Regions from separate parts of the Homo sapiens genome. Here regions 1, 3, 4, 5, 6 and 7 are each linked to region 2. Evidence: promoter capture Hi-C in human tissues and cell types (Jung and others, 2019). All regions are on one chromosome and are shown on one strand. Each heading gives the region's core, a stretch centred on a gene start or on the middle of the fragment in contact. The rest is flanking DNA. Distances are from core to core; before and after follow the strand shown.

Region 1 (3,765 bases), core at 674-3,173, 450 kb before region 2:
AATACAAATTATTTAATTTGATTTAATAAACAGAAAATTATTCCAAAGAAGTGTACTTGGTATTTAGGGATGTGTTTTTTAAAAATTTAGAGCAAGACACAATTGAAAAGTTTGCAAGTAATGTCGATAATGGTGAAAAATCAGATACAACCTGATTTTTGTAAATAAAAATTAAGGTTTGCTTAAATATTTTTTTCACTTGGTATGGCAGGGACTGTTAGTTGCCTACCCATATCCATTCACCTTTATTTCTTAGTAAAAGCCTTATTTCTTGCTGGGTGGCCATGTATCCAGCAAAAAGACTACATTTTCCAGCTGTCCTTAGAGTTAAGTGTAGTCCCATCACTAAGTTCTGGCTAATGAGATGAAAGCAGAGCTGGGCTTCTGCGAAGTCTCCCTCTAGAGAGCTGATTCAGCCCAAAGGGGAGACTTCTTTGCACCCCTTTTGCTGATGTTGAACTTCAACAGTCAGCTTGGACCATGAAGTGACCTTGAGGTTGGAGACCCTCATATGAAGGAGGAAAAAGATAAAGAAGACCAAATCCTGGAAGATTTGGAGTGTGCAGTCATACAAGGACCTCTGCTCAGAAGGGCCTCACATGTGGTTCAATGCTCTATTATTGCTACCTTGAAACTTTTAATAACTGTCATCTTTGATGTTATATTTTTTGGTTTTGTTTTGTTTTTTGAGACTGGATTTCCCTCTATGGCCCAGGCTGCAGTGCAGTCTCACTGCAGCCTCTGCCTCCTGAGCTCAAGTGATCCTCTCTCCTCAGCCTCCAAAGTAGCTGGGACTACAGGCATGTGCGTCCACGTCCGTTTGTTTTGTTTTGTTTTATTTTTATTTTTTTATTTCTTGAAGACACAGGGTTTTGCCACATTGCCCAGGCTGGTCTCAAACACCTGAGCTCAAGTGATCTGCCTGCCTTGGCCTCCCAAAGTGCTGTGATTGCAGGCATGAGTCACCACACCGAGCCTGAGGTTGTGCTTTCTACATAAAGTCTAGTAGAACAAGGAAGCATGTGTGTGAAAAGAGAAGTTACACACAATCAGCACGTCTGCTGTTTCTTGTTGCCCTATTTGCATGTAGTCTCATGAGCTCTGAATTCCGGAGGCCCCACAATGAGTGAGAGTTCAATGAGACTCAGAGTGTACAAGGAAAATGTGTTAGATCTATGACTAATTAATTGGAGTACTGATGGCCCCAAGAGGCCACACTTTCCATCTGAACTAGAACTTGCTATGCAGAAAGAAGGCAGTGGCATTTCTAGGAACATAAACAATCAAGGAATCCTGTTGTGTCATTTCTTACTTATGTTACTTCCCTGTAGTAGTCAACAACTTACCCTGAAAATAATAACATAGAAGGAAAAGGGAAGTTAGACAGCCCATAGTTCCTTTTAATTTCAGTCCTTCCTTACTTATCAGTAAGCCAAAGGTAGAAAGTGTTGGTAGAAGCTGCTTGTATCAAGAAGTGAAATAAAAACAGTTAATTTCATTTTGTGCAACATTTTCATTCTTCTGGTTAAGAACAAAGTACAAATGCACACACATATTATAAAATATGAATTATGTGATTTCGGTGATCTCATGTACACACATTAAATGTTCTTATATTTGCATTTAAAACTAGCATTGCTTAATATAAAGATGAAGGGTAAAATTCATGCTATCAATTTACGTTTTTACGTATTTTTTGTTACTTAGATCAACAATAGGAAATTTTAAAAAAACACCAGGGCAAGTCAAGAGAGAGGTCCCAGTAGAAAAGAAAAATCTTTATATTTCAGTACTCTTTTTTTGTTTGTTTGCAACCTCCGCCTCTCAGGCTCAAGCGATTGTGCTGCCTCAGCCTCCCAAGTAGCTGGGATTACAGGCACCTGCCATCATGCCCAGCTAATTTTTGTATTTTTGTAGAGACGGGCTTTCACCATGTTCGCCAGGCCGGTCTTGAACTCCTGACCTCAGGTGATCTGCCCGCCTAGGCCTCCCAAAGTGCCGGGATTACAGGCATGAGCCACCACGCTCAGCCTATGTTTCAGTACTCTTAATGAAACACTTTTTAAATTTTTGAACAGGGGCCCCCACATTTTCATTTTGCACTGGGCCCCACAATTACAGTCAGCCTTGACGTCAAGGAACCACCACACCATCCCTAAACTGCCTGCTTTTGTGTTTAAATCACCGTTTCATTTTAGTCAAATATAATCCTTGCCCTTACAGTGTGCAGTATAGTCACTACACTGCTGCTAAAGAAAGATGTTTGAGGCCGGGCGCGGTGGCTCACGCCTGTAATCCCAGCACTTTGGGAGGCTGAGGCAGGCGGATCATGAGGTCAGAAGATCGAGATCATCCTGGCTAACACAGTGAAACCCCGTCTCTACTAAAAATACAAAAAATTAGCTGGGTGTGGTGGCGGGCGCCTGTAGTCCCAGCTACTCCGGAGGCTGAGGCAGGAGAATGGCATGAACCCGGGAGGCGGAGCTTACAGTGAGCCGAGATTGCGCCACTGCACTCCAGCCTGGGCGACAGAGCGAGACTCCATCTCAAAAAAAAAAGATATTTGATTTTTTGGAAAACCTTTGTTGGGTTTCAAAAACAGTGGGGTATAGAAAGTATTTTTTTTTAATTTTTGTTTTAAATATACAAACACACACATAGCATACATAGAAAAAAAAAGACCAGAAATAATTACACCAAAATATTAATGTTCATAATATTTATCTCTAAGAGTTGGAATTATTGGTGTTACCTATTTTCTTTGTACTTGTGTGATTTTCTGTTGTTCAGTATTTCTTAAATGAATATTTAATATTTTTATAATTAGATGAAATTTAGAAAATTTACAAATGAATCCTGAATCAGTATGAAATTTACTATTGAATCTAGAAACTATGTTAAACTTAGTCATGTAATTTTTTTTATACTTCCCTTAATTTGGGGATTTTCAAACTATAAAAATAATACAGGCTAGTTGTAACAACTGAGATTATACAAAGTTATATTTTAAAAAAACAATTTTTCCTGGCACATGCCTGTGGTCCCAGCTACTTAAGAGCCTAAGATAGGAGGACTACTTGAGTCTAGGGGTTCCAGTTAGCCTGGACAACACAGCAAGACCCTGTCTCTTTTAAAAAGCCAAAAAACTATTTTATGTATATATTCTGTCTCTGCCATCTAAGGCTCACATGTTAAATGACCAACATGTATCATTTCACAAATTATATAGTATAATCTAGCCTATATAATTTGCTCATCTCACACACACACAGATTGATTTTTGAGTTTGTTTTCTGTGAAATAGAATTATAAATGTGAATCCACAATTTACTATTTTTACTTAATATATCACAAACTTCTCTAAAAGAAAATACATAAATTTATCATGTTTCTTATTTCTCCATGTGTACATAGAGACATATTTCAAATCCCATTTTAAGCTTCTCATTTTGGAACTTGGAGATGTCTTTTGACAAAGATGCTTTGCTTGACCAAATTTTAGTCAGGCTCCTGAACCTTCTCCTAGGCCCATCTATGCTCTTCCTTGTAAAATCCAGTTTTGGCAAGAGCCCTGCTAAGTCAGTTTAGCAAGAACTCTCCATCCTGCATTTCCTATCACCCTCAATAGCTTGATCAGGTTCCTCAAACTCCGCCATCCTGCAGGAGATGTCTGATCACCCTGGCCTGTCTTCAGCAAGAATCCTGTTAGGTCAATTTCACCAGAATCCCCCTTACCCTTAATGTGTCCTCTTAGTAATTTTTATC
Region 2 (3,310 bases), core at 23-2,522:
GGAAGGGGGGAGGACCCGATCTCTGCCTTTTCAAATGCAACCGGAGACCAAAGGCAATTAGACCATTGGGACCATTTCCGACCTGGCGCCGCGAAGCCCGGGAAGTGACAAGGTAATTTGGACCTCTGACCGACGTGCAAACTGGTCGGAGGGCTGCAGCACCCGGGCTGCCCAAGTGGGCCGCAATTTTACGGTCCTTTATGGACTCCTGGCTTCCGCGCCTCCATGCCTCTTACACCCTGCCAGCCACAAACTGCCCGGATCGGCGTTTGATCTTGCCCTCGCCTGGGGAAAGTGTCTTCCCCGAGCAATTGAAGCATTCCCCGAGCAGTTGAAACACTGGGTGCTTGGGGTGAGCTTCGAATCCCCCAAGTCCAGGACTTGCATCCGCCCCCTCAGCACCCCGCACTCAAGGCACTGCTGTCACCCTCAGTCCCGCCAATGCCAGAACACAGTAGGAGACCCCCGCCAGAACGCAGATAGCAGAGAGAGTTGCTCAGGTGGGTCCCCCCAGCCATCCTGCCCTAGGGGAAGGGAGTGTCTTCCTCCTGGCCTGCGCCGAAGTGAAGGGTGGGCGCAGTGGGAGGCCCGGGGAGCGGAGGGGCACGGTGGCTACCTTTGCTGTGCTGGTACTCGGCGTTCCCGGTGGCGCAGTCCGGGGTGCAGCTCACCTCGATTTCTTCATAGAAATCCGACTCGGTGTCCGAGCTACTGGGTTGCCCCTGTCCGGAGAGGCTGTCGACTGAGGGGGCCGGGGGTCCTGGGCCGAGCATGGCCGCCCCAGCTACCTGGGGCTCGGCGCCCGGCCCCGCCGCGCTGCCTGCGAGTCCATCTACCGGCTCCTCCTCCGGGCCTCCCCCGCCGCGCTCCCGGGTGGCCGGAGGGACGGCCCGAGGGCTCAGGCAACCACGGGGCACCATTTTCTCGGGCGGCTCCGGCAGCGGGCTGCCCACGGCTTCGGACAAATTTGAGACTCTCTTGCCAACCAGAGTGCCAAGCTGACCCCCATCCAGAAACACAACCATGTCCTTTCGGCTCTCCATCCCGGGGCTCTCCGGTGGGGGAGGGGAAAGCCCCAAGTGAGTTCCTAACCCCGGCTCCCTGGGTCTCCAGCGGCCGGACGGATCTTGGTTGCAAGAGGGAGAAAGAAAGGCCGGGTGCCTGGGAGGGCGCGGAGCTGCTGGAGCGCGGTCTGGACCGCGACCGCGGCGGTGGCGGTGGGAGCTAGGGTCACCTTGTGAAGCGAGCGCTCCTCTGTGCCGCACCGCCTCTGGGAGGAAGCCCCATTGCCCTCTTCTTTCTAAGCTGTCATCCTCCTGCTGCAATCGTCATTACAGTACCGCTGGTGACGCCACTCGGCGAGCGCAAGTGGATAAATAGAAACGTCTGCCACAGCGAAGATGAAAGGAAACCCGCAGCTAATGGCTCGGCAGTGATGCGCCAGGTGTGGGCCTCGCTCGATTGGGGAGGAGAGTGTGAAAACAGACAGAGAGACACACACACTGAGAGAGGGAGACACCCAGGCAGAGGGGATGCAAATGGAATTCCGCAGAAAGAAAAGAGAGCTTAACGCGCGCGGCGAGTTCCGCAGGGGCAGCGGGACTCGGTAATTAAATAAGCTTTTGATTTTTTCTTTTATTGTTGTTTTGACTTTTGTTTTCTTAACTTGGTGCCTTGATCTAACACCGATGAAAGAATCCATAACTGCATTTTAGAAGTGTGAAGCCCGGCTTACAAGCCTCAATTCTGTCGGCATTATTACAACTGTCTGCCCCTGGCAGCTAACCTCAAACTGGCTGAAAAGTCTTTTTACAAGCTACGGAAAAATGTATTCCCCCGCCCCAAGTTGACTGGAGAGCTTGAGGCTGGGCCATCTTTTCCTCTTTTCTCCTCCCTCTCCCTACCCACCTCTGTCTCCTTACTCCTGCGAACCAAACTTTGCTATTTTTCTTCCCTAAGGGGCAAGAAATAAATACCTTATTATTATTTTTTAATTTAAAGACCCGCCTTGGCTTCTGTAAGAGTGTGTGCTGATTTCTTTTAAATACCTCCTTCCCATCTAGATGGCCTTAAGTTTTCCACAGCCTGGCTTCATCTTGAGATGGCTATTCGTACAAGAAGTCGCTTTCCCGTTTGCCTGGACCTCGCCTGCACTCCAGGTATGTTGGGTGGGGAGAGTTTCTAAGAGTTGTCTTTTTTTTTCCCTTGCCCATATTTTAAAGTATTCGTTCAGAATCAGCGAAGTCTCCTGGAAAGAGGTTTTTCGAATGAAGAGGCGCCAGGAATGCGGCCCCTGCTGTGGCAGTACTGGAGGCCCCTACTTGGGAGAAGGCAGTAGCTTTCACCGCGCTATTTTGGGCAGGGGTTCAGCCTCCCCGAGTACAAAAAGGTTGGGGTTCATAGAGGTTTGACTCATAAGGTCCTCTCCCAAGTCCCTGCCTAGGGGCAGTGGTACCTGTCTCCAAAAGTGGATGGCGTTTGAGGTAGAAGAGAGTGAAGTCGCTGAAAATGCCCTAAAACAGCAAGTAAGTAGGGACTCTGATGAAGGGCTGGAGGTGGGGGCAGGGGTTGTGGAACTTAATATCTGGAAGCTGCCATAGGCCTCTCTTGGCTCCTCTCCCAGGGAAGAAGCTGGTATAAAACTCCTTCAAACTGACCCTTTTTGAGCTCCAAGCAAGTGTGCTGGGGCCAGGTGGGTGGGCTGAGTCTATCCCCACATTGCTGAGAGCAGGAGGTGGGCACCTTCTATGCTCAACCCCCCTTTCTCCGCCTCCTCCCGAAGAGCTTCTAGCCCTAGGCAGCCAGCTGCAAAGGGCAGCCCAGCACCTCCCTCCTTTCTGTGTCCCTAGCAAAGCCCCAGCTTTTACAGGTAAGTCCTCTTCCGTGACCTTTTTATCTGTTATCTCCTACTTTTCTCTCCTCCTTTTTCTCTTTCTGTATTCTTCTCCTTCTTTGCTTCTCTCCTCCATCTTCCTATCCATAGGGTTAAGGAAGGTAGAGGAAGTAAGGGGTCCAAAGAAAGACAAAGTTTCCTCTTCACTCCGGCTTTCCACTTCTCTTTCAGTCTAAGACGATGTTCATTAATCTTGCCTGGGGGCGGAGGCAGCGGGATCCGGAAGGTAGTGTCCACATAGATATTTCTACTCCTTGGGACTCCTGAAGCCACTATATGCTGAGCACTGCTAGCCCCAAAATCCAGGGAAATGTTTTAGAGGTGAGAGGATCAATTGGGAGTGAGGGGAGTCAAATCCTAGAACCTTTTCCTGCCTTGGAGAGCTGTCCAGGTATTCTATCTTTCTCTGTCCTCCCT
Region 3 (3,519 bases), core at 147-2,646, 390 kb before region 2:
ATGAAGGTGTAGGAAAGGTTTTCATGCAACTTAAGCGCTTATTTCTTTGTAATTTGATGGAAAATTTTTTAATTTTTAGAATTATTTGTAGCAAGTCCTCATTATATATCAAAATATACAGGTTGAATGTATCTCATTGTAGATTATAAAATGCTGTATTGTCTTTAGAGTGAAACATTAAAAGAGAATATCTTTTTTTGTTGTTTTAGGGTCTGAGATATTTTATAATATCATTTCCTAGCTTGTTAATACACAATATGCCAGGATACTTGATTTACTGAAATTTTAAAGAGTGACTTATGAAACTGCTTTTTGTTAAAGCTACATTTATCCTGAATTTGATTTAGAAGCTGATAGTCTCTTGTGGAAAACTGAAATGTAATTACTTCTAGCTCTTAATATTTAGATTACACACTCTGTTTGGCTTCCTATTCTTTTACTTTCATCAAATGCACATAAATACAAAAAGAACATGTGTAAACTTCTGCCACATGAAAAGCAGAGGCATTCCTATTTGTAAGATGCTTACATGTCCCTTCACATTTTCTAGTAGAAATACGTTTCTACATGCATAATGTATGTAGAAATATGTTAGTTTTTACATATGTAACTCATTCTGGAGAGAAATCCTCAATAATCTGCCTGATCGTCTTTTGTCTTTTTTTAATGAAGAGAAAAAAGGCTTTGCAGAAGATGTTGTGACAGTTGGGATGCCGGATTTCTTTTCTTTTTCTTTTTTTTAAGAGACAGGTCTCGCTCTGTTGCCCAGGCAGGCTGGAGTATGGTGGCGCGATCATAGCTCACCGTAACCTCCAACGCCTGGACTTAAGTTATCCTCCCATCTTAGCCTCCCAAGGAGCTGGGACTACTGGTGCGCCCCACTACACCCAGCTAATTTTTCTATTTTTTGGTAGAGATGGAGTCTCACCGTGTTACCCAGACTGGTCTCCACCTCCTGGGTTCAGGCAATCCTTCTGCTCCGGCCTCCCAAAGTGCTGGGATTACAGGCGTGAGTCATTGTGCCCAGCTGATTCTTTCTATTAAAGGAGAGTTTGAGTCAAGGAAGGAGCTCCTGGTCTCTCCTGACCTCTTTGGTTGCCAGTTGGCTGGCCAGGTTTATCAAGGTGAATATGTGGAAAAGAGCCAGAGAGCTGGGGATGGGGGATGTGAGTAACAGTGCATCTACTCATGCATGCACCTAAGCAAACAGGATAGACAGCGCAATTTTCCTTTGCAGTATGTTCGTGGTCATTATTAAAGCAGAAATGAGGGTTGAGAGAGTGCCCTGATGCCTATTCATATATCTTTATTCTGTATGTAGTTTCCACGTAAGTTTCGGTAGCTCATACTGTTAGCCTTCCTGGTGGTACTTGCAGTCATTGTAGTAAGTGTTTATGTCCTTGTCCTGACCTTTTCTTTTCTGAAACAGACTTTTCTTTTCTGAAACAGATACTTTCTTCTTTTTTTTTTGCTTGAAAATACAGACTGGAGGATGGTGGGGACTGGGACTTGAGATTTTGTTAGGGGATTTTGCTGCCCACCAAATCACTGATGAATCCTACAGTTGAGTTACCAGCGTTGTTGTACTAGAATATTTTTCTTAGTCAAAGTGTATACCAAAGATTATGCTGTTTAGGAATCCAACTTGGAAGAACCCATGAGAAGTGTGTCTGTTCCCAGGACTGCTGGGTTTTGCCCTTTTACCCTCAACTCCCTTCACACTTTTAAAAATAAACGATAGATTTGATTTCACAGAAACTGCATCTGTATATGTATAATGATGTGCCTTTATTTTGGGCAGTAAGCTTTTTTTTTTTTTTTTTTGGTCATTTGCAAACAAGGATTAGTCTTTATGCACTGTCACTGTTATAGGCATGCATGAAAAGTGGATCCTGTTTGTGCTCTAGAAACTGCTTACATTTTAATTTAAATAATGTGCCTTTGCAATTTTTTTTAAAGGTAGTATCTTCCCCAGCAGATGTTGCTGAAAAAGCTGACAGAATTATTACAATGCTGCCCACCAGTATCAATGCAATAGAAGCTTATTCCGGAGCAAATGGGATTCTAAAGTATGTATTTCTCACCTGTGGATATTTTCTTGTTATGATAGTTCATGAATTTCACATGTTAGAACTATTAGGAAATTACAATTGTGTTTGTTAAACCTTTCTATACTGTTTTTATTTCATAAAGTGAATAGTGTGGTGGTTTTCTCATTGTAAAAGGCTTATTTTTTCACTGAAGTCAAGTATGTGACAATGTGTATAAAATTTTTTGGTTCCGTTTCTTTCCTTTAACTCTTGCGTTAAACTTACCCTTTCACTAGTAACATGTTTAAGAGACTTTTAAAGCTTACATTTGAAACTGCAACTGTTAATAATATAATTTTCTTACAGCTTATAGAAATTCAGGAAAAGGGTTTTATGAAAAATATAGCCAAACATTGGAAAGAACACCATCGTTTAACATTTTATTATACGAAAAAAAGTTATGTCCTGTGGGTTAGTACGTTTGTAGTAAGAACTTTGGGAAGTTGGAATTAAAGGTTAGCAGTAGCTCTTTAACCCATTTATGTCAGAGGTTGCAAATTTTTTTGTGAAAAATCAGACCTTGGCAATGACCTTGAGTAGTAGGATGTACTGCTTGAGCAGTAGGATGTAAATAACTCCCACAAACTTAGCATAAATGGAACACTAGGCATAAATGGGTTAAGTAAAATACAGTTTAGGTCAGTTTCCTAATCAGTGCCTGTCTTCCCTGGCTCTGAGAAACCTTTTGGTTAATTGCTGCTTATTGCCAAACCCTTGCGGTTATGTTAGGATGATAGTGATTGAATTCCCAGCTTAGTTTTGTCATGTCACTGTTTCTATTCCTAACTTATTTTGTTGTTGAATTTCAGCAAAGAGCTAGAGCAAACTGGTAGACACTGTAGTCACAAGAAGGGCTAAAAGAAAGGGTGTAATTTCAGGAAACTGTAATATGTGAAATTTGAAGTTTCTGGTAATTGAATTGTGTTGGAAAACTAACCAACTTGGAAGGAAGCAAAAGACACTTGGATATTAGGCAGAAAACTGATAAGATAAATGTTTAGATTTCAGGGAAGGTTAAAAGACACTCATTTTGGATGGAGCTCTCAGGGCCACAGTGTGTGTGGTCCAGAGGCATCCTAGCTGTCCTGTTACCTAGCCTGTTACAGTTATGGTCCTGCTTTACCTCTGAAAGAAAAGTTACTAAAAACTTCTGAGGAGACATAGCCCTACATTTGTTAATATCCTTTGCTAAGGAATATGGTGACTAGCTATCAGAACAGTTTGGTCCAGGGAGTGTTTTTAAAAAGTTTGACTTTACATTGAACTATAATTTGCTTCTTATGGGTGATTCTTTATTTTTTTCTGGGTGAGGATCATTTCCATACACCCAGTGCATGTATAATTTTTGGGATGATTTTCCATTTGTTGAAAGGTTTAAGATCTTAAAATATTAAGATCACAGATTGATAAACTTAATTCTTATTCTTTT
Region 4 (3,628 bases), core at 752-3,251, 270 kb before region 2:
TTAACATGTTAATGAACATTATACAGTTAAAGCCTAATGTGCTCCTGTTCACACTACTTTCCTCTTGTGAGTTCTAGGAATCATCATATCTCCAAGTTAAAATTTTTCATGTTTGTCACTTTGTGATCCGAATGTCTTATTTCTCCAGCCTCTATAACATAATTTCTGATTCTGCTTGTGTGTGCAGGCATACTTTTCTGACTTGAGTTTAATACGTAGTCTCTGATTTTTTTTTTTTTTTCAAAGTTGCAATGGCAGAACTGGGCCATCAAGGACACTTAGAAGGTGATAAGCTGGAAGAGACTTTTAAGGAGAAGATTTATGATGGGTTTAGTTTCCCTGTTGTCCAGCTTGCCACTTTCAGCCCAATTCATTTTGGATTGGTAGGGGGTCTGTCCATGGGGTTCTGACAAATGTGTTTTTATCCTTGTGAATTTATGCTCACTTCAGTGTCCAAAAAAAAAAAATCTATTAAAAACTGATATGACTTTGAACAGTGGCTTGGTCCCTGATTATGGCCTTTCCTGGCCATCCCATTTAATTTCTGGCTGGACCATCTAGTGACATTAAAAGCTGCCCCTTCCAAAGGTGGATGTTCCCTGCATTGCACTGTACTCATTGCAGTTTAGTCTAGTCCCTTTTATAGGTCAGTGACACCTTGAAGCTTGTATACCTGAGTCACCACAAATCTTAAAAGATGCAATTTTCTTGGCAGCTTTATCCTCCTAAGATGAATTGGATGGTGGGAGTGAAGGACAGGGTTCTAATCTCTGTGTTAGGACCAGGGACGATAGAGACCTCTGTCTTCGCACTGGGAAGCTGCTAGCTGAAGGACTAAAAGAAGGGTTTCTTAAGTGGTTAGTTACATGCTGGAATCTTTGTTGTGGTTTTTAAAACAATCTGCTTGTTCTCTAAAAGAACCTGTTTGTGCTTCTCCTTGAAAAGTACCAGTGGCATTCCCTCACCTACGATACAGCTTTAGGTACTTACTCTCTTCAAAAGAAATAAAATTTCAAAGAAAATTCTTCTAAGGTAGTCAAAGAGTTATCAAATCTGGAGAGCTGGGGAATCTTTTCTTGTGTTAGCCCTGTTATGCCAGATGGTTTCCTTAAAAAAATCATGAATGTATTCTGCATGGTCAGGCATTGTCATCTTTGCAGAGAACTGTCTTTGCCTAATGTCCTGTCTGATGGGCCATTCTATATATTATATGCTACATAATCTCCACAAATGTATACTGTGGTCCATAAAACTGCCATACTGTTTTCAGAAACTAGTAATTCACAAAGTAAACCTGAGACAGTGCTGTTAATAAACACAAATTGCAAACAAGAAGGTAGTAAGTGGAAATAATGCACTCATTTAGGAGTCATAAAGCCTTTGATCTTACTTTGAAGGAAAGAGTCTATGTTTAAACTACCCATTCAGGGACAGCCAGATGCCCATAAAGAGCAGTGCTTTTTGCTTTGATAGAAAATCACTGAGGCCTGTCTAGCAGGTCTGGTTTGTAAACAGATTAGTTAAAGGCTCATCAGGACTGATTTGCATAGGATTCAGCAAGCCTCAGTCACTTAATGAGCAATGCCATTTCCAGGTTGGGAAGAACACCATTTTTTTTCCCCCTAGCTAGAAGTCTTAGATCATTACTTTGTGGGAAAGGGAAAGAATATTCATATAAAGTGAACCCTTGCTGTCCTCTACTAATGGGAAAATGATGACCTAAGGCTTGCTTTGCTTGCTGTAAATGATGAAGGTTGTAATGAAAGAAATAGGTGATGAGTTTGAAATTAGGTTACAAAAAAGGTTTTCCTACCCTTCTCTATTGTTAGAGAGACAAAGGAGGACTAATGTGAATTATAATAGAGAAGGTAGAGAAGGTAAATGCACTGCAGACACAGACCACAAACATGTATCCACAAGTGTTTATGGAGGACCTCCTTGGAGCCTGGCTGTGTGTCAAAGGCGAGACATTCCATGCTGCCCAAGGCAGAGAAAGCGTCAGCCTGCACCAAGCCTCCCTTCTGGGGCCATCATTACAGAGAAATGGGAACAGCAGAGGAAAGGAATTTGGCAGTTTAAGCACAGGTTTTGAAATTCCTACCAGTGAGCCGCTATTTGCTTGAAAGATGGCAAGACCGGTATTTCCAGAGAGAGCAAATCCTCTGATCAATCTTTCTGCACTTTTATTTTTGAGTTTCAGAATAATGGGCAATCACCTTCCTGTCAGTAACTAAGAACCTCTCTTCTCCTTAAATTGTTGGAGTGAGAAAAATGTCCAAAGAGGCAGGGCGTGGTGTCTCACACCTGTAATTCCAGCACTTTGGGAGACTGAGGTGGGCGGATCACTTGAGGTCAGGAGTTCAAGACCAGCTGGCCAGCATGGCAAAACCCCATCTCTACTAAAAATACAAAAATTAGCCAGGCGTGGTGGTGCGTGCCTGTAATCCCAGCTACTAAGGAGGCTGAGGCATGGGAATCACTTGAACCCTACCAGCAGAGGTTGCAGTGAGCCGGGATTGCGCCACTGCACTCTAGCCTGGGCAACAGAGCAAGACTCCCATCTCAAAAAAAAAAAAAAAAAATGAAAAGAAAAAAGAAAAAAAGAAAAATGTCAAAAGAAAGCCTTTGCCTATTTTGATCACTTAACAGATAACAAATGGAGCAGCTCAGTAGAAACAAAAAATCAGAAACTGCTTAATTGTGACTTTGAAAAATATTAACTTTGAAAAATTTTAACTTTGAAAAATAAGCAGTTTCTGAGTAAAACAAAGTGATCTCCGAAGTTTTCAACTGACTTCCAAGCATGCAGTGAGCTGCCGGGGGACAGTGGGTGCTTCTTTGTCTGGCTTGCAGCAGCAGCATCCTGCTTATGGGAGACGTTTTTTAAATATTGTCAACGTTGGCAACATTAACTTGCTCAGCTAGAAACGTGTGTTTAAATAGCAACCTTTGGCCTTTGGGTCCTGCCTTGTCAAGGCCAAGGACCTCAGCCTTACCCTGCTTCCTAGAAGCAAGATCAAATCAGCACTCTCCTGTAAATGTCACCTTGGATCCATTGCACTCAGGAAGACACAGTGCAGCTCTGGGAAGTGTCAGGAGAGCCTAGGGACAATTTCATACTGGCGTGAGCAAGACTCCGGGTCCTGTCCAGGTAATTCAGATGGATAGCGGGTGTAAAGGGAGGCCATGCCCTCTGTCTCTCCAGATGGATTTGATTAGGCTAAGGAGGAAGAGGAGGCCTTGTTAGTCTGCTTGTGAAGATGGCTAGGGAGAGCATTCTAGTAAAATCTACTTGAGACCAGGTAAAACAGCTGCAACCCTCCCTAAGAAAACTGGGGGTATTCTATATCTCTCAAGGCACCATGTGTGAGGCCTCAGAGGGCCTTGCAGTCCCTCTTGCTGTCACCTTTCCCCAACCCCACTATTTTCTGATGGGAAGATCTCTTCCAGCTTGCCTTTGTCCACATCTCTCTCAACTTCCATATGGGCACAGACCTGCGTCTTATAGGCAGGGACCTCCTGTATTCATTCATCTTAAGCTGTTTTATGTAATAGTATTGAAAAGTGATTCACATCCTTTTCCATGCCCTGGTCTCCTTATTGGGCTCTTTAGATGGGCACTGACAAG
Region 5 (3,458 bases), core at 937-3,436, 380 kb after region 2:
TATTTGCCTATTTTAAGTATATAATGTCCTGCTTTTTCTTGGGAGGAGATCTTTTGGCATGGCTGTCCATTGAAAGTATTTTCATCTCATTACTATATAAGGCTCTTGATACTACGTACAGTTTTTATAGCTACCCAATCCAAATTATCATTGGTTTTCTTCAAAAAGAAGAATCTAAACATATTAAAAAATTAGCATTATATGAAAAATTTGCAAATGGGCTTATTGCTCCTGTTACCAGCATTAAAGTATTACTAGAAAGAAGGTAGACACAACAGAGTAGGAAAAGCTGCTGGTGATTTGAAACACAGTTTAGTTGTCTCATAAATTTCAGATTAAGTGTCATATATGGGTGATAAAAGTGGCATAGGCTAGATTTTATATACTCATGATTCACTTAGTTTGTCTTTTTCAATTAAAGCTAAGTCTCTTTTTCATTCCACTGAATTTACATTTCTTTTTCAATCACATTCTGAACACATTACAATAGATGCTGCCTAAAACTGAATATAGTGTAAATCTCAGACTAATGTGTTATTCACTGTGGCTTCTTTGAAAATATGTAGTAAAAAGATTTTGATTATTGTAAGGTGCTATTTATCAAGAGTCATCTTTTAGGGTTGAAAGATGTTCAGCCCTACCTTTAAACAGCCCAGCTTTCTATCAAAATACATCATTTAGCTTCCCAAAGTCAATTTTGGAAATTTTGTCCAATGATTGGATTGTAAGACTCTGGTATTTTTTACCCATTGTACCATGAGAGCTCTTGTGCCAGTTCATGTCACCTTTTCCATGTTTGAAAAGTCCACAGTTCATCTGTAACCTGTAAAAGTGCTAAGTAATCAGGGAAAGACATCAGTTAGAACAATCAATAACTTTTCAATTAGCCATTTTCCAACTTTGGGCATTTGGCTCTGTTGATTTGCATGTGCCCAGTTTAATTGATTTTTATGTTTATCAGTACCTGTTTGGTCAGAGCCATACCCTGCTTTAACAGAGAAGAGCATGTCTTTTTTTTTTTTTTTTCCTGATGGTAGCTTACATTCTAGGGTAGGATCCCTATCATATTAAGTTTGGTGACAGCACATCTCAATGAAAGCAGAGAGAAATCTGGCCCAATTCACAATGTAGAGAGAGATGTGGAATTAAGTTAGAAAGGCCATGGGGGTGCTGTGTGATTGGTTTTACCTTTATTTTATTGATCTGCGGCTAAGCATATGGTGGTAGATTCAGCCCAATTCTTGCGCCCTCCCCCTCCCCCATACAATTCAGGCCATCACAGAGGCTGAGTGTGTGTATATGCATGGGCCAGGAGGTATTGGGTGGTTGGAGGACTAGGCAGGAAGAGGAGGTGTTACCTTTGTGACTTGTTTTTAACCTCCAGTATGCAAGCCCTATTCTAGGCTGTTTGATAGTCGGGGGTGGTGAGGACAAGTGGCCAAACTGCTTTTCAAGAGTGGGAATCTGTGCTAGATACTACATCCAGAAGCTGAGAGTTACTTTATCATTTGCAAAAAAATTTAAACTGTTCTGACCTGGTGTAGTTCCACCTTTTCACTATGTGATCTGTGTAGAAGTTGGCAGAAAGCAGTTAGTGTGTGTGTGTTAGATACTTGTCCCAACCACTTGCGACTCCAGGGAAAGGTGGGGTGGCTGTTTTTTAGGAGGTCTATATGTTAAAAGGGGGGAAAAAGGAAGATTGGAGTACTATTCAGTGATTTGGTGTGTTTGCCTCTTAGGGGTCTCCATGGCAATTGAGAGATTTCTAACTTAAACTGCTCAAGATTGCTGAGCCAGTATACGTCAACTTTTAATTTTGTTTTCAGACCTTAACATTTATCGACAGAGCAGTTGTAAATCTGATCTTTTCAGAGGCCTTCTCCCCCAGATCCTTACAGCTGTACCGTGAGATAAGGTTTACTCTTGACAGTGTTAAGGTGTATTAGGAGCTAAAATCCCATCACGTTTACTTTCACCAGGATAACTTTTTCCTGCTGATGACTTGGGCTGGGGTGGAGGCTGATGGAGATAGGGGTAATTCTGGGGTTAAATGCAAGCAGTGTAGACTCTGCAGTCTATTTGGCTGCCGGCCCGGAGGCAGGAGATGGGGGTGGGTGGGGGTAGTTAGACCTGGTAGTTAAACCCTTTCCCGCGGGCGCAGAGTGGGCCTCCCACGCTTCTCTCCCGTGGCCAGTATGCGTGAGAGTGTGAGTTGAGCCCCTGCCTCCGAGGAAGAATTCTAAAAACCGGGCTAAGGGTCGAGCGAGGGAGGCTGACCTTTTCTTGTTATCAAATTACTGCGTTTCCCTGAATTACGGGCACTCAGGAATGGTGAAATCTACATATTAACCGAGGAACACGACCCTCAAAGGAAGGTAGAAGAAGGCTAACGCTCTTGCTAGTTTACTGTGCTTGCTAGTTTACCGTTTGCAGGGCTATTTAGAGCACAATAAGAAGCTTCAAATCTCTTCTCCAACCAGCCAGAGGAACACTTGATTCGCCCAAGACTCTTATTGCTTGCTTTTGAAATATTACCCTGGCTCTGAGCTACAAAGCCACAGATCCAGCCCCATTTGTCTAGTGAGGGCTCTGCCCCAGACCCGGCTCTCCATGCTCACTGCTCCGCCTGAGAGGAACCCTGGGGTTTAACGCTGAAGTGCGTTTCTCAGAGGGCAGAGCTGGAGCATCTCGCAGCCCTACAACTTCTTTGCGGCGCTTGGTCTGTCTTTGCGTTGCGAGATCAGGATCGGTGTGTTGCTCAGACACCGGCCGAACGCCACCGGCACGTCTAGGAGTCTCCTGTGCCTGGAAGAGGCTGGTTTCATTCGATTCTAAAAGAAACGGGTAAAGTGTAGATTTTAAGAAATAACCTAGATTTCAAAAGCTTAAAAACCAACCAAGTTTGGTTGTGGACAGTCAACAAACTAAAATTATTTCGGGAACTGCTTCCAGTTTAAAGTTTTTTTTTTTTTTTTTTTTTTTTTAAGCAAAGCAGTTTCTACTCTCTCCACATCACCTTTGAGAAATAATCACGAAAAAGTCACTGTTTATTAAATAATTTTAGTTGCTTTAAACCTTTTCTGGGAAAAGCTTAGGAATAAGTATATTAAAAAAGGCTACTCTAAAAAAAAAAAAAAAAAGACCATACCCAATCTCTGAATTTCTGGCATCCTTGAAAAATACCGATTCTTCCTACAGTCCCACACTCTTTCAAAAAAAACTTTGTCATAAAATAGTAACATGGATCAGTATTTTAAAAACATGTTTGGGGGCGTTAGAGGGCACTATGTAGAGTGTTTATTGCAGCCTTTTTTTTTTTTTTCTGAATTTTTATAAAACTGAAATGACCTTTTAAAGAAAAAAACTCTTGGGGGCAATTCATTGTTATTACTTCCAGTGATAGAAAATAGATTGTTTGTTTAAACTTGGATTGTATAATGAAAATATAAAATAGGCAA
Region 6 (3,389 bases), core at 889-3,388, 410 kb before region 2:
TGATTTTATTAACTTTTACAAATTTCACCTCTTAACTTTTGAGACAAATGGCTACCAGGTATATCTCTTTTTTCTCATCCTATCACTGAAACCTTGGTCATGGTATTTCTTTTTTTTTTTTGAGACAGAGTCTCACATTGTCGCCCAGGCTGGAGTGCAGTGGTGCGATCTCAGCTCACTGCAAGCTCCGCCTCCCAGGTTCATGCCATTCTCCTGCCTCAGCCTCCCGAGTAGCTGGGACTACAGGCGCCTGCCACTACACCCGGCTAATTTTTTTTGTATTTTTAGTAGAGACGGGGTTTCACCATGTTAGCCACGATGGTCTCGATCTCCTGACCTCGTGATCCGCCCGTCTCGGCCTCCCAAAGTGCTGGCATTACAGGCGTGAGCCACCACGCCCGGCCGGTCATGGTATTTCTAATAGTCTGTTGGACATCTTTTCAGCTCATTGACAGTTCATAGTTACCCTGGGTAAAACTGAGCCAGCTCTCCTTGATTTCTTCACTTAGGTATTGATAACACTATTCTCTTACTGTCATTTTGGACCTCACCCTTATTTTAGCCTATAATCCAATCCATTGTTTTATCCTTTTACTTCTGTCTTTGAAATAGTTTTTATACCTGTCTTTTCCTGTGGCTACCACACTTTATTAATTTTGACTTTGTTATGGACTGAAATTTTATGTCCCCACAAAATTTATATGTTGAATTCCTTTTTTTTTCTTTTTTGAGACGGAGTCTCGCTCTGTCACCCAGGCTGGAGTGCAGTGGTGCGATCTTGGCTCGCTGCATCCTCCACCCCCTATGTTCAAGCAATCCTCCTGCCTCACCCTCCTGAGTAACTGGGATTACAAGCACATGCCACCATGCCTGGATAATTTTTGTATTTTTAGTAAAGACTGGGTTTCACCATGTTGGCCAGGTTGGTCTCAAACTCCTGACCTCAGGTGATCCACCCACTTTGGCCTCCCAAAGTGCTGGGATTACAGGCGTGAGCCGCTGCGCCTGGCCAAAATTCCTAACCCTCAATATAATGATATTAGGAGCTAGGCCCTTTGGGAGGCAATTAGATCATGCGGATAGAGCTCCTGTGAATAGGATTAGTGCTGTTGTACAGAGAGACATGAGAGTGGCTTCTCTTTCTGCTCTCTACCATGTGAGGATACAGTGAGAAAATGGCCATCAGCAAACGAGGAAGTGGACCTACCAGACACTGGATCTGCTGTCACCTTCATGTTGGACTTCCTGGCCTCCAGAACTGTGAGAAATAAGTGTTCGTTATTTAAGCCATTATGGTATATTTGTTATAGTAGCTCAAACTAAGGCATCTAGAGGATTACTGTCACTTTTATATTGGTCTTCTTGCCTCCAGGCTCTTTTCTTCAAGTTCATTCATTGTACACTGCTGCCTCATTTCTGTTCCTAAAGTGTAAGTCTCATCTGTCATTTCTCTTGCCCACTGTTTCAATAACTACCTCTTGCCTACAAAATACAAGTTGTTTAGCATCCTTCTATCCTTCCACATTATGGTTGCATTTTTTTTTTAATCTTAATCTCTTGCTGTTTTGTTTCTTTGTGCATTCTTTAGGAAGAATAGAGGGCAGTATCATACAATGTTTACAAGTGGAGACTCTAGAATTAGAATGTCTGGATTTGAATCTTGGCATTACAACTTAGTAAAGTATTAGGTATTTTACTTCAACTCAGCATCAGGGTTCTCAGCTGTAAGATGGGCTTCATATATAGCATATGGTAATAGGTCTGTTTATAAAGTGCTTAGCATAGTGTCTGGCATGTAGTAAAATTGCAGTAAATATTAACTATTACTGTCATTTCTTCATGGCTCTTCTAGTTCCTTGTATATATTCATGTTCCTTTTTCTGTATGGAGTTCCCCTCCTCCTTACCCTCCTATCCATTTGAAATCCTACCCCTTGTATAATATCCAGGTCAGATGCCACATTCCTCAAGTTCCCACACCATGAATTCTCATTTTTCATCAGCATTGTGTTTTTATCTTTAACTGTCTTATGTTAGTGTTTATGTACATGGTTTATTTCTTCTTGGTTTTAAGCTTGTTGAAGGCAAGGACTGTGTCTCTTACCTTCTTTGGCATCTCTTTTGGTACATGTGATAGTTGCTTAGTGTTTGTTGAATTTGTGAATGAATTGTGGTTCTACGTGACCATACTTATGAATTGTTTGACCTAGAGTGAATTGCCTGTTAAATTAACTGTCTTTAAATTATAATCTTCCTAGTTGCTGAAGTTTTTAGATTGCTAAATTACACCTTTTCAACCTTAACACAGTAATGCCACATTTTCTTTCTGGCTATTATTGCTAGTTTGTTTATGAGCATTAGTTAGAGTTCTCTGATGAAGTGTACTCATTCTGTTTAATATCAAAATAAAATTTCAGTTTGGTGTCACTTTTCTGTCATTGAATTCCTTGCAGGCCAGAAAGACAAACTATACCAGTGTACTATTATACCAGTGTACTATTATACCAGTGTATTAAACTTAGCGCCTGTTAAATGATGTTGCACAGAAATGACACCCACATTTAATGGAAGTGTTAGAGTCAGTCATTAAGTTAAAGGAATTAAATATGCTTCCAACCCAAGAAGACCTCTAGTTCTTAAGCATTAGGGCTTCAAATAATTTGCTTTTAACAAATCTCATTCCATTCAGATTCAGTTCAGGGAAGAGCAGATTAAGTTCAGTTGAGGGGACCTGAAACTTAAAAGAGGGACTGTGATTAGTTGTTGCACTACAAATTTTAAAGCTGGAGTTCTTGAAAGAAAAAAGAAAAAGAATGCTGGGAAATGGAAGAGCAAGGAGAGTTACTTCTCTCTTTTCCCTCACTAGACTGTGAGCTTTTAAAGGACAGGGACCATACGTTGCTTGTGTCTGTCTCTGAGCTCTGTCATAGTACTTCATGCAGTGAATATTTATTGAGTGGAGTTCTAAATCTAGAAAGTGAAAAATTGCATCTAACGCTATTTCCATAGTACTGTAAAGCCTCCCCACTCTGTAACGCATTACTTTGATTCATATGCCCACGGAGTAATTTCAAAAAGTCTTATATGAAAAATAAAAGAATAAATAAAACCTGTGTAGTTTTTAAGGCTTTTTTTTTTTTTTTTTTAATGGCAGCCTGGTCAACATGGTGAAACTCTGTCTCTATTAAAAGGACAAAAATTAGCCAGGCATGGTGGTGCGTGTCTGTGATCCCAGCTACACCGGAGGCTAAGGCATGAGAATTGCTTGAACCCAATAGGCAGAGGCTTCAGTGAGCCGAGATTGCATTACTGCCCTCCAATCTGGGTGACAGAGTGAGACTCCGTCTCAAAAAATAAATAAATAAATAAATAAATAAATAAATAAATAAA
Region 7 (3,728 bases), core at 52-2,551, 290 kb before region 2:
TGCCATCGTACTGGCTAGTTGTTGACTATTAAGTTTACCACCTACTTAATAGTCAACTACTAGCCAGTACGATGGCATTTGGGCATACATGTAGGTCTGCATTCAAGCTGTCCCACAGACTTAAGCTTTTCTCATTTATAAAATGACAAAAGTGATTACATCTATCCACTGGGTTGTTGTGAAGATTAAGTGAGTTAATCCATATAAAACTTATTAAATAGTTTCTGGCACATAGTAGGTGTCGATATGTGGTAATGATATTTGTGGTTGTGGTGAGGTGGTTATTGTTTGAAATTAAATTGTACTTTAATCTTTTTCTTCCTAACATGTCTCACTAGCTGGCATTACATATTTATTTGTCTGTTTATTACCTGTCTTCCCATCTAGAAGCTCCATGATGGGAAATGGTTTGTTTACTCATTGCCATATCTTAAGAATATACCTGGCAGGTATTAGGCACCCAGTGAAGATTTGTCAGATAAATAAGGAGAGGAGGGAGGAGGTAGGGGAGTGAGTGAGTGAGGGGATAAGATATGGCACTTCTCTTGCCAAAGGTAAAAGTTATCCAGGTGGGTCTTAACTCAGCCCTCCTGGCAGACAGGCACAGCCTCCTCTTAGCTTCCTTCTTACTGTCTCCTTCGCTGCACGTGTAGCACTTGGATATAGCAGATCTGAGTAAACATTGATGGATAAGTGATTGATTAATTAAAACTGACATGGTCTTAGATGTTTCATTTCCAGATCTGTTCCTGTGATACAAACATCCCAGTTTAGTGACATAATTTATTTCGTTCTTACGTGAAACCAGACAGTATAGATTACTCACAGATAATATAAACAAACATTTTTGGCCCTTAAAGTCTTGGTTACAGTGAAGGCAAATGTTTAATTTTTTAAATTTTTTTGCAGTTTATGCATTATTTTTACTTCTTCCAAACCTCATTTAAAATTCTTGTTTTAGAGGTGAGTAGATTTGACACAGTGACGTTTATTTGAGACGCATTATATATGCAGTCAGAGCGATGAATTCATTCTGTTTATATCAGAGAACATTCCAGCAATTGTAAAGCCACATGCATGCACGCATGCACTCTCGAACCACATCCAGTGGCAAGTTATTATGGGGACTGACAGACTGTCATTCTTTTGATGGCTTGAGCTGTATATCTTCTGAACAGCAATGGGGCTCTTATGCAGAAAGTATCATATGTTCCCAGCCAATTTACAGGGAAACAGCAATAACATTTTATCATGGTTGAGAGCCCAGTAGCTGCTTCCTATTAAACTTGCCCTTTCAGATACCTGTCTTGGATTAATTTGTTGATTTCGAATGGAAACTCAGTCTTCTCCAGTGAAGCATGACGTTCTAGGATAGACTCTGAATGACAATTACTGTGTATTCTAGCTGGTTTCAGACCATTACAAGCCTTGGGCACAGTGGAAAACAGAGGACTTCAGTAACTGATTTTAATATCATGTCTAATTTTAACTGTCAGTTATGTATGTGCCAGAGAACGAATCCTCAGAAAGATGAAATGCAAAACACTTCTAACTTGCTCTTTTTAATGATACACTTTGCTGCGGGTGGGGGCAGGGGGAGGGAAGTGGAGAGGGAATAACTATCTCCTGAAGGGAATCAGCACGGTGGGGAAGCATCAGATTTGAAAAGTGAGAATGAAACAACTGCCACCTGATTTTTTGTGTGTGCCCCTCAGGATGCTTCTAAATAGTAATGTGTTCACCAGAAAGGGTTTCCATCAATCAATACCAGTACTTTTCCTTGAACATTCAAGAAAAATGTAGGGTTTTACAAAGTTAGGATAATTAGCTTTGCTCACCATTTTGTTGAATATTATAGAAAAGAGTGAATTTCCTTAGCTGTAAAAGCTCTTGTGAGCTACTACTGAGTGTAACCTGGTAGATTAGAAAGAAGGAAGGAATTCTGCTGCTTTAAATATGATGAACCATCTTAAAAGATCTAAGTTAGGAAGCCCTGAAATTATATTTCAAATGGAGAGAGAAAGTGACGTTTTGGAGTCTTTAAAAGTATTTTCTCCTTATGGAGCATATTAGATGTATGCATTCTTGAACATTTGGTACTTTGCAGTTATAGCAAATTAACTAATTGTTAATTGTGATTTTACTTTTCACAATTATTCCCTAAGCACACTGGCTTTATCTTTTCCTAAGTGATATACTACAGTAGCATACTGATAGCCTAATCTTATTTAAAAGGAGAAAGCAAGCATCAGTAGCATACTATGCATGCAGTGAACTTGGATCTTTATAAAAGAATGAATGAAACTGTTGGGTTTCTCTCTGGGAATCTACAGTTGAACAGAATGAATGATAGCCAATTTAGACTGAATTTCTGTATCTGTTACAATCCTTAGTAAAATCCATCACTATAACATGGGCCACCATATGAATTCAGATACATGATATGCCACATAGCAGTCTGGGAACCACAGCTACCCCTTGAAAGCCTGATTACATAACAGTTGTATTATGTGGTAATTCCATACATATTTTTGGCTGTTAGCCTCAGCCCCCTGCTCTAGCATCTGAAAAAATGTTTTATTGGCCATGATATTCAGATTTTGAAATAAACAGGCATGTGTTTTAGACACACAGAGTAAACAATCTGAGCGTGCCAAGATGCACAGTTTGTTTAACATTTACATAAGTGTCTCTTTTCAGTGTTTTTTTTATTTTCTGGAAGAGGTTGGTTTTAAGAAAAAGTGGAAAGCTTTTATGACAATTGTTTCATAATGGCTCTGTGTATGAAAGAAACCAAATAAATTGCTAGGAATAAAGTTTTATTTGAAACTTGATTCAGTGATACCTAGCAAAATTGTGCTTCCCAAACTGCATTATATCTTTAGAATCCAAGTAATGGAGCATTTTGATTCTATTATTTTTTCTAGGGTCCACATTGAACAGCCGTTTATGCCATCAGCCCAGTGATAGAACAAATGATGTTTCTGCTTGGGCAAGCTTTGTTTTATCAGGATCAGTAACCTTATCAGCAGTTGACCCAGAACTATAATGCATGTCTCTGAATAGATAGCATATGTCACAACTCTGTGCAGACTTGCTTCATAAGCAAGATTGTCTAATAAAGATTTAATAAATAAGGAAAAGTTTGCAGCAAAAAGTCTTCTTTTATAATAACTTTTCTTAAGCTCGTTTACAGCTCCTGGCTCATCTCTTGCATTTATTCTCATAAAAACTAAAGGAATAAACATACATATAAATGCATTCACACAGACTCCCATGATGCATCGTTTATCTGTCAGTATTTCTTTCTGAAATATATCATTTGTGGGTAAAGAATGTAGAATTTAAATTATCATATTGTTTTAAGGTTCTTATGTGACATATAAATGTAGTAATGTCCAAAGACTAGAAAACCCATGAGTGTGATAAACCAACAATATTTTTATGCAATTGTATATTATTTTTTCTTAATAATAGGATAACATAGAAGGTTTTCTCCAAATGCAAAATGGTCCTGGCTCAAAAATATTCTTATTTAACCAGTAGTGTTTAGTACTCTATAATTCAAAATTGGATTCTTCACTCTCGTATCAACCTGCTTAGATTTTAGAAGACATATAATAAATGGAGAGAGAAGATGGAGCATCCCCATACATAAATAAGTCACGCACGACGTGTACATTTTGACACTTAACACTTCTTTTCTTTGACCTTTGACAGGTTAGGGC

Evidence for each region. Contacts are between HindIII fragments. The study calls those that stand out against the background at their distance.
Region 1: a fragment that was not itself captured here is called in contact with the fragment with the promoter of EVX1 in region 2 in 2 of the 25 tissues and cell types used here (liver and mesendoderm cells).
Region 3: a contact is called between a fragment that was not itself captured here and the fragment with the promoter of EVX1 in region 2, in 3 of the 25 tissues and cell types used here (hippocampus, mesenchymal stem cells and mesendoderm cells).
Region 4: a contact is called between a fragment that was not itself captured here and the fragment with the promoter of EVX1 in region 2, in 4 of the 25 tissues and cell types used here (H1 embryonic stem cells, mesendoderm cells, spleen and 1 more).
Region 5: a fragment that was not itself captured here is called in contact with the fragment with the promoter of EVX1 in region 2 in 2 of the 25 tissues and cell types used here (H1 embryonic stem cells and neural progenitor cells).
Region 6: a contact is called between a fragment that was not itself captured here and the fragment with the promoter of EVX1 in region 2, in 3 of the 25 tissues and cell types used here (bladder, liver and mesendoderm cells).
Region 7: a fragment that was not itself captured here is called in contact with the fragment with the promoter of EVX1 in region 2 in 2 of the 25 tissues and cell types used here (mesendoderm cells and small bowel).

Annotation. Positions count from the first base shown.
Region 1 is chr7:27,695,548-27,699,312 of GRCh38, reverse strand. The region is part of intron 2 of LOC105375211 (a long non-coding RNA gene); the gene reads right to left. Among named protein-coding and RNA genes, the nearest start is that of HIBADH, 35 kb to the right of the region's middle. The HindIII fragment of the contact is 3,939 bases long and covers 1-3,765 here.
Region 2 is chr7:27,240,764-27,244,073 of GRCh38, reverse strand. EVX1 (even-skipped homeobox 1) reads right to left here and starts at 1,272. Exons shown (of 3, transcript NM_001989.5): 1 at 617-1,272. The coding sequence starts at 1,043. EVX1-AS (EVX1 antisense RNA) reads left to right here. Exons shown (of 4, transcript NR_120507.1): 2 at 2,064-2,159; 3 at 2,433-2,525; 4 at 2,624-2,645. RefSeq lists an enhancer at 777-1,654. The HindIII fragment of the contact is 9,702 bases long and covers 1-2,694 here.
Region 3 is chr7:27,630,886-27,634,404 of GRCh38, reverse strand. HIBADH (3-hydroxyisobutyrate dehydrogenase) reads left to right here. Exons shown (of 8, transcript NM_152740.4): 3 at 1,960-2,069. Among named protein-coding and RNA genes, the nearest start is that of TSL, 17 kb to the right of the region's middle. The HindIII fragment of the contact is 6,193 bases long and covers 1-3,519 here.
Region 4 is chr7:27,514,525-27,518,152 of GRCh38, reverse strand. No RefSeq gene overlaps it. Among named protein-coding and RNA genes, the nearest start is that of TSL, 100 kb to the left of the region's middle. The HindIII fragment of the contact is 4,432 bases long and covers 1-3,628 here.
Region 5 is chr7:26,856,837-26,860,294 of GRCh38, reverse strand. All of the region lies in intron 1 of SKAP2 (src kinase associated phosphoprotein 2), which reads left to right. It overlaps LOC124901606 (a long non-coding RNA gene), which reads right to left. Exons shown (of 3, transcript XR_007060265.1): 3 at 2,754-2,831. Among named protein-coding and RNA genes, the nearest start is that of SKAP2, 6.0 kb to the left of the region's middle. RefSeq lists an enhancer at 2,272-2,873. The HindIII fragment of the contact is 4,413 bases long and covers 1-3,458 here.
Region 6 is chr7:27,650,469-27,653,857 of GRCh38, reverse strand. The region is part of intron 1 of HIBADH (3-hydroxyisobutyrate dehydrogenase); the gene reads left to right. LOC105375211 (a long non-coding RNA gene) reads right to left here. Exons shown (of 3, transcript XR_007060268.1): 2 at 1,208-1,258. Among named protein-coding and RNA genes, the nearest start is that of HIBADH, 11 kb to the left of the region's middle. The HindIII fragment of the contact is 6,446 bases long and covers 1-3,389 here.
Region 7 is chr7:27,531,341-27,535,068 of GRCh38, reverse strand. It overlaps HIBADH (3-hydroxyisobutyrate dehydrogenase), which reads left to right. Exons shown (of 8, transcript NM_152740.4): 7 at 3,721-3,728. Among named protein-coding and RNA genes, the nearest start is that of TSL, 83 kb to the left of the region's middle. The HindIII fragment of the contact is 3,145 bases long and covers 1-2,873 here.